2 separate regions of the Homo sapiens genome follow, and region 2 is linked to region 1. Evidence: promoter capture Hi-C in human tissues and cell types (Jung and others, 2019). All regions are on one chromosome and are shown on one strand. The core of a region is centred on a gene start or on the middle of the fragment in contact, and the rest is flanking DNA. Distances in the headings are between cores, read along the strand shown. Region 1 holds the start of NFIL3 (nuclear factor, interleukin 3 regulated). Region 2 overlaps SYK (spleen associated tyrosine kinase).

Region 1 (3,170 bases), core at 295-2,794:
GCACACAGCCCTGGAGAAAACACCAGAAATAGCACTGCGAGGCCACAATTGTTAAAATGTGATAGGGCTAAATTTAGAAGAACGTGCGTTTCATTTAGGGCAAAAGACACACATTCGGCAGCATGAGCAAACTCCATGCTTACCCGGTTGTCTACTTTCCTGTTTAAAATATCCTTAAGGAAAAAAAAAAAACTGTTATAGTGACATTCTTAAAGGCTGAGACTGTCCTACTTTCTTTGTAGCAAGATTATAAAATCACGTAATTAGCTCCCTCTCTCTATGCTCACTGCCAGCAAATTCGGCAGTTACATAATGCAACATTTCCAGGAAACTATTATGTGATTTGTCTTGTCGTGTCTGAAAAAGCAATGACAATAAGGTGAGAAAAAGGGCTGATCGAATGGAATGCATTAAAATTAGGAAGGTGGGGAGGTAAACGTCACAATGGTTCGTCCCAGATTTAAAAATAACAGCTGAGAACATTGAAAGGGCGAACCCCAGTAGTACCCAAGATCAGAATTCAATGCGAGCAATTCTTGCTTTTAGGTTTTGTAGTATCGTTTTAAAACCTGTTTATTTGGGACGTAATATAGACGTAAATAACGATCTAATATCCAACGCTGCGCCTCAATTACCAAATCATTGCACACATACGCGCATATTCCCACATCAGCCCGCAATTCTTGCCAACATTTCACCGTGGGCAGATTATGCAATGTATGAAAGGACAAATCCCACAACCTTCCCGAGGGCTTGTAAAACACGCTGACGACAAACAGGGTGGAAAACGTCTGTGCAGACACAGCCCCTGACACAAACAAACGCCGCGCAGGCATTCTCCGAATGCCGTCACCGTTCACGCTACCAACCCTTTTTCTCACCAAGCAAATTAAGACTATTCCCCATTCCTCAACCCCCCATTCCTCTCCCCCCTACGCCGCCAGCCCCAGAGAAGGAACGAGAAAGAAAGACACTAGAGAGGAAAGAGCATCTTCCCGCTCGGAGAGGGCTCAGCCTGCCTGGCGCTCTTCTTTACCAAAACATCAATTTTCCTGAAATCAGGAGACATTATGCAACAGCAGCGGGGGGAGAGCGCAAACCAGCCAGGACTACGTGCCGGCGCGAAGGCGCTGCAATCAAAGCAGCCACCTTAAGGTGGCGAGTCCCATCCTGACAAGGCAGCAAAAGTTTATGTAATGAATGCCCCGCGCGCACTCGCCGCCGCTGGCGAGCCCAGCTTACAGCCCGACCCCGCACACAGCGCGGCCCGCACCCCGCGCCCGCCCGCCCGCCCGCAGCGCGCCCTGGGAGCGGTCGCCGGGCCCCCGGCCGGCGGTGGGCGGAGCGCTTACCGTGTTCCTGCTCTCGGGCCGGCGAGGAGAAAGAAAGGGGCGGCCGGGAGTCGGGCCGCCGGCGCTCGGGGCTCGGGCCGGGCCGGGCCTCCGGGGCCGCGGCGGGAGGCGGGCGGCGGCGAGGGCGCGGCGCGGGAGGCGGGCGGGCGCGCCGGGTCCGCGGGCGCCGTGGCCGCGCGGAGAGATGTGTGTTAGTAGGTCAGTTCCGAGCGCCGCGCTACGTCGCCGCCCGCCAGCCCCGCGTGACTGGCGGCCGCGGCCCCAATCGCCGCGCCCGCACCCGCCCCCGGCCCGCCGCCAATGGCCGCGGCCGGCAGGGGCGGGCCGGGGCGGGCACTCCGCGGCCCCGCCCCGCCTCCCCGCCCTCAGCTCCCCCTCCGCGGCGGCGCCACTACCAGCTCGCGTCCCTCCCCGGCCAGGGCCACCGCCGTCCGAGCGCCCGCGAGGGCTGGCGCCCCATTCCCGGCGCAACGAGTGTTGCGCAACGGCCCACGCGGCCGACACGACCGGAGCGAGCCTGCGGAGGAGCCCGGGAGCCCCCCGTCCCACCGCCCCGTCCGCTCTTGGCTCCCTTCACCCTCCCGGTCGCCGCGGTGGCTCTGCGCTCCCCGCGACCCTCACTTGCTCGCAGAGGCGCTTTTTGTCTTCCTGAGAGCCGCAGCCTGCTGGGCTACCTGTTGCCGACTGAGCACTGCGGGTTGCGGCTACCCGGGCGTGGCCCGGACCTCGGCCTCCCCTTCCCCGCACACTCCCGAGAGGAGCCCTCTACCTTGGGGTGGGCAGGAGGGAAGGCGGGGGGTGGCGGCTGGCAAGCTGCCAACACTCGGGGCGCGCTGCGGCGGGGAAGGGGTTGGCGCGGCCGGGCAGCTGCGCAGGGCTGCGCGGCGGAGGCAGCGATTAAAATGTCCCGGCGCCTCTCCCGAGAGCCGCGACGGCCCGGAGCCGGGAGGGAAAGCTCCACGCACAAACACCGCCCCCTGCACAATTAGGGCGAAGATGACGGCTGCAAAGTTGTTGCGTAACACGACTGGGAAACGAGGCTCGCTGAGGTCCATCTACCCACCCCCGCCACGCGGGTGCGGCGTTCCTCGGAGGATGTGAAGGTCCGCGCTCGGGTGCCCCCGCTGGGACGCCCACTGTCGTTTGGTGCTGGGGCTTGAGACGACCGCGCGGGATCTCTTCCTGTGATTTTGAGCTGATAGCTGCTTAGTGTTATTTCTGCGTCTAACTGGATACGGTAGTCTTCTCTCCCAAATTCCCGGGCTACGGAAGAGACGTAAAAAAATGGAAAAAAGAGCACCTAGCCGCGACTTCTTAAGTCGTCGCGCTAGACTGTCAAGGCACGTGGCACACTCCCTGCGTTTACCGATACACGGATAGTGGTCAGTGCTGGCCTTGGCGAAGGGAGCCATGTTCCCGACAGTGACTCACAGGCTTGCCCAAATACGGAGTGTGGCAGGTGGGCAGGACCTCCACCAGCCAGCTCCCTCCTGGTCTCCTTGAACTACGTGGGGGCTGGGCCGAGTGCCTCCACGACTTTCCACTTCTTTTTGCTCCTTTCGTTTTTAAAAAGCAAAAACCAAAGTAAAGAGAAGAGCAGAGTGAACACCCAGGTACCATCCCTAGTGTCTGCCATGAGCAGCAGATCTATCTACTCGCCAAGATTGTCTTTTCTACCTTTCCCCTTCTTGCACAGTTAATATCATAATAACGCAAGTCATATTTAAAAAATTTTTATCACCTATCAGTTGAGTTTTTGGAAAGCCTTCCAGGGCAGCGTTGTGGTTTTGAACGCACTCTTGTTCGTGATTTATCTGG
Region 2 (3,170 bases), core at 213-2,712, 540 kb before region 1:
AAGTAAACCAAAGATTGTCTTTGGACAATCAATGAAGAAAAAAAGCCACTAGGGAAATAAAAGCCATCTTGGAAGCAGCAAAAAGAGACAAAACTACCGAAAAGATAGGGTAGTGGAAGATTTCTGTATGAAAACAAAGCAAAGTGAAATGGAAAAGAATAAAAAGTGGGCCGGGCGTGGTGGCTCACGCCTGTAATCCCAGCACTTTGGGAGGCTGAGGTGGGTGGATTACCTGAGGTCAGGAGTTCGAGACCAGCCTGGCCAACATGGTGAAATCCCGTCTCTACTAAAAACACAAAAATTAGCCAGGCATGGTGGCAGGCACCTGTAATCCCAGCTACTCTGGTGGCTGAGGCAGGAGAATTGCTTGAGCCCGGGAGGTGGAGGTTGCAGTGAGCTGAGATCGTGCCACTGCACTCTAGCCTGGCCAACAGAGCAAGACTCTGTCTCAAAAAAAAAAAGGAATAAAAAGTGAAACAAGATCAAAGAAAAGTGCTAGCTGTGGAAGCAAACGAACGCTGGCACTCGGGAAACCATGCGTGACAGGGTAGATTTGTGCAGCATCACAACTGAAAAACACAGGTGTTCTTTGATCCAGCAGCTCCTTCCGAGAGCAAACACACACATCTGGTAATGTGCACTCTAGCACGGGCTGCCACGGCAAAAATCTGGAAACTGCCTGACGACTGCTCCGCAGGGTTTGGTCCAATCAGTCATAGCAGATTCACAGGAAGCTCACAATGCAACCCTTTTAAAAGTGACTTATTTGCATGTGCTGACCTAGAAATATGTCTACTATACATGGTTAGGTAGAAAAATTAAAAAGTACAGTGCTCAAAGAATATGCCCCTAGTTTTATGACCAGAAAAAAGTATACACTACCTATTTATGCATGTATCTAGGTTATTCTGAAGACAGCCTAAATTTCATTGCATTTAAGATTTGTCAAAGGTTTACTTTTTTCATCAGTTCAAAATTCAGAAGAAACCTGAAATAACACACATGGTTGTATTGTTCATGACTTGTAAGATCAAAATTTTAAAATAGCACACAAGGTGATGGAAACAGAAGTATAATCAGTTGTATCATTTGGAAGAGAAGTGCCAGGGCACCTTATGGTCTCCAGATTGATGTCCTGAATGTCTCCTTGTGATCCACTGTAGTGTCATGAAATCAGTTTTCACTGAAATCATGTCCCCCTCTCCACCCCAATGAGACCTCACACAGGTGACATCAGCAGAAGATAACCAGACTCCGCTGTGTGCCCCCTGAATCCCAAACCCAGAGAGAGGGTTTTGCTATGCAGTTTTGACCTCTGTACTATCACTTGCTTTTTAAAATTAGGAAATTAGAATGCTTAGATCATTTTTTAATGATGCTAGCAAGTAGTGCATGCTAAAATAATTGACCTGGGTGGAGAACTGATCAAGATGGACGACTAAATGCAACTAGTATATGCTCCTCCGTAGAGACGGACCAAAATAACAAGTACATATTCACACTTCCAATAGATGGTCTAAGAGAGAACACAGATGCAACCAAGGAGCGACAGGAAGCACCAAAAGCAAAGCACAGGGAAACAAGGCAGCCTGCTTGGCCAGGAATGACTGGGAGCTGGGAGAAGCTTCCAGATATGGGGAAAGCATAAATGAGAGATCCCCAGGGCTCCACATTCCAGCCAAGGACTTCTACAATCCTAGCGACAGAAGAACCCCTCGACCCACGTGGGCCTTAAGACTAACATAGGGAGCTGCCTAGGGATCACACAGAGGCATTGCTCCATAGAGGGAACTCACGCTGAGTCCCACAGGCTTCCAAGCTCTGAGTAGCTGCAGCTTGGTGCCATACTGAGAACCAAGTCCCCAAAGGACTGCATCTTGCCCTGGGACTATTGCTGATGCTGCCATCACCAGGCCAAGGACAGAGGGGAGAATGGACACCTTCACACACCCCAGGGACAGATCCCCCTGCTGCTACAGGCTGCTGTGGGGCTGAGACACAAGCAAATCACACCCCCTATAGCTGCCTGCCTACACTGCTCCCCCTGAGAATGTCCGCAGCCTCCCCAGGAGCAGGCCCATAGCCAGCGCCATTCTGAGAGCCAAGCCTCCAAAGGTCTGTGTCCTTCCTTGGGCCAGGGCTGATGCTGCCACTGCCCCGCCACATAGGGAGAAGGGAGGCCAGGCACTTTCACATGCCACAAAAACAAATACCACCACCACTGCTGAGGGCTGCTGTGGGACCAAGGCTCAAGAAGACTGCATATCCCACAGCTACCTGCCTACTCTGCACCTATTGAGAGTGGCCCTACCCTTTCTGGTGGTAGGCCTTCAGGGCAGCCACTGCTGGCAACCTAGAGACCACCCCTCCCTGCGTATCACAGCCAGCAGCTGAATGCACCACCAGGGAGCCTGAGCACAAGTCCATTGGCCTAGTCACATGCCCCAATACTTGAGCATGACATCCTGTTGCAGCCACCGCCAACACCAACATGGACCACTTGGGTTCCAGTGAGTTGCCCTACCACCATTACTGCCATCACCCACATCACACCCACTCCCCAGGAACCCAAGAACCTGCCCACATGCCCAGCCACTGCAGCATCCACACAATCTACCTGAAAGCCCAAGGGTCAGCCTTCTTAGACCTACTAACACCAGTGCTAGTGTATACCGCCCTAGGGCCCAAGGACAGGCATACTCAGCTCACTGCTGTCACCACTGGGGTCTGAAGACTGGCCCACCTAGCATCCTATTCACAGTACACCTTCACAACAGCCTCCACTAATAACCATACCCTAAGGCACTGAGAAAATCACAGGTGTCACTGAGGCTGTTTATGGCCATAGAAATTATACATAGATTAAATACTGCATTCACCCCAAATCAAACCCAAAGTGCCCTACATATATATATGTGTGTGTGTATATATACACACATACACATACGTGTATATATACACACATACACATACGTGTATATATACACGCATATACACATACACATACGTGTATATATACACATACACATACACATACGTGTATATATACACACATATACACATACGTGTATATATACACACATATACACATACACATACGTGTATATATACACACATACACATACGTGTATACATACATACACACATACGTGTATATATGCATACATACA

What was found. Contacts are between HindIII fragments. The study calls those that stand out against the background at their distance.
Region 2: a contact is called between a fragment that was not itself captured here and the fragment with the promoter of NFIL3 in region 1, in 1 of the 25 tissues and cell types used here (lymphoblastoid cells).

What each region holds. Positions count from the first base shown.
Region 1 is chr9:91,422,288-91,425,457 of GRCh38, forward strand. It overlaps NFIL3 (nuclear factor, interleukin 3 regulated), which reads right to left and starts at 1,545. Exons shown (of 2, transcript NM_005384.3): 1 at 1,353-1,545. It overlaps LOC105376146 (synapsin-1), which reads left to right and starts at 1,746. Exons shown (of 2, transcript NR_188612.1): 1 at 1,746-3,170. RefSeq lists a silencer at 1,483-1,882. The HindIII fragment of the contact is 26,857 bases long and covers 1-3,170 here.
Region 2 is chr9:90,881,230-90,884,399 of GRCh38, forward strand. All of the region lies in intron 11 of SYK (spleen associated tyrosine kinase), which reads left to right. Among named protein-coding and RNA genes, the nearest start is that of SYK, 81 kb to the left of the region's middle. The HindIII fragment of the contact is 5,960 bases long and covers 1-3,170 here.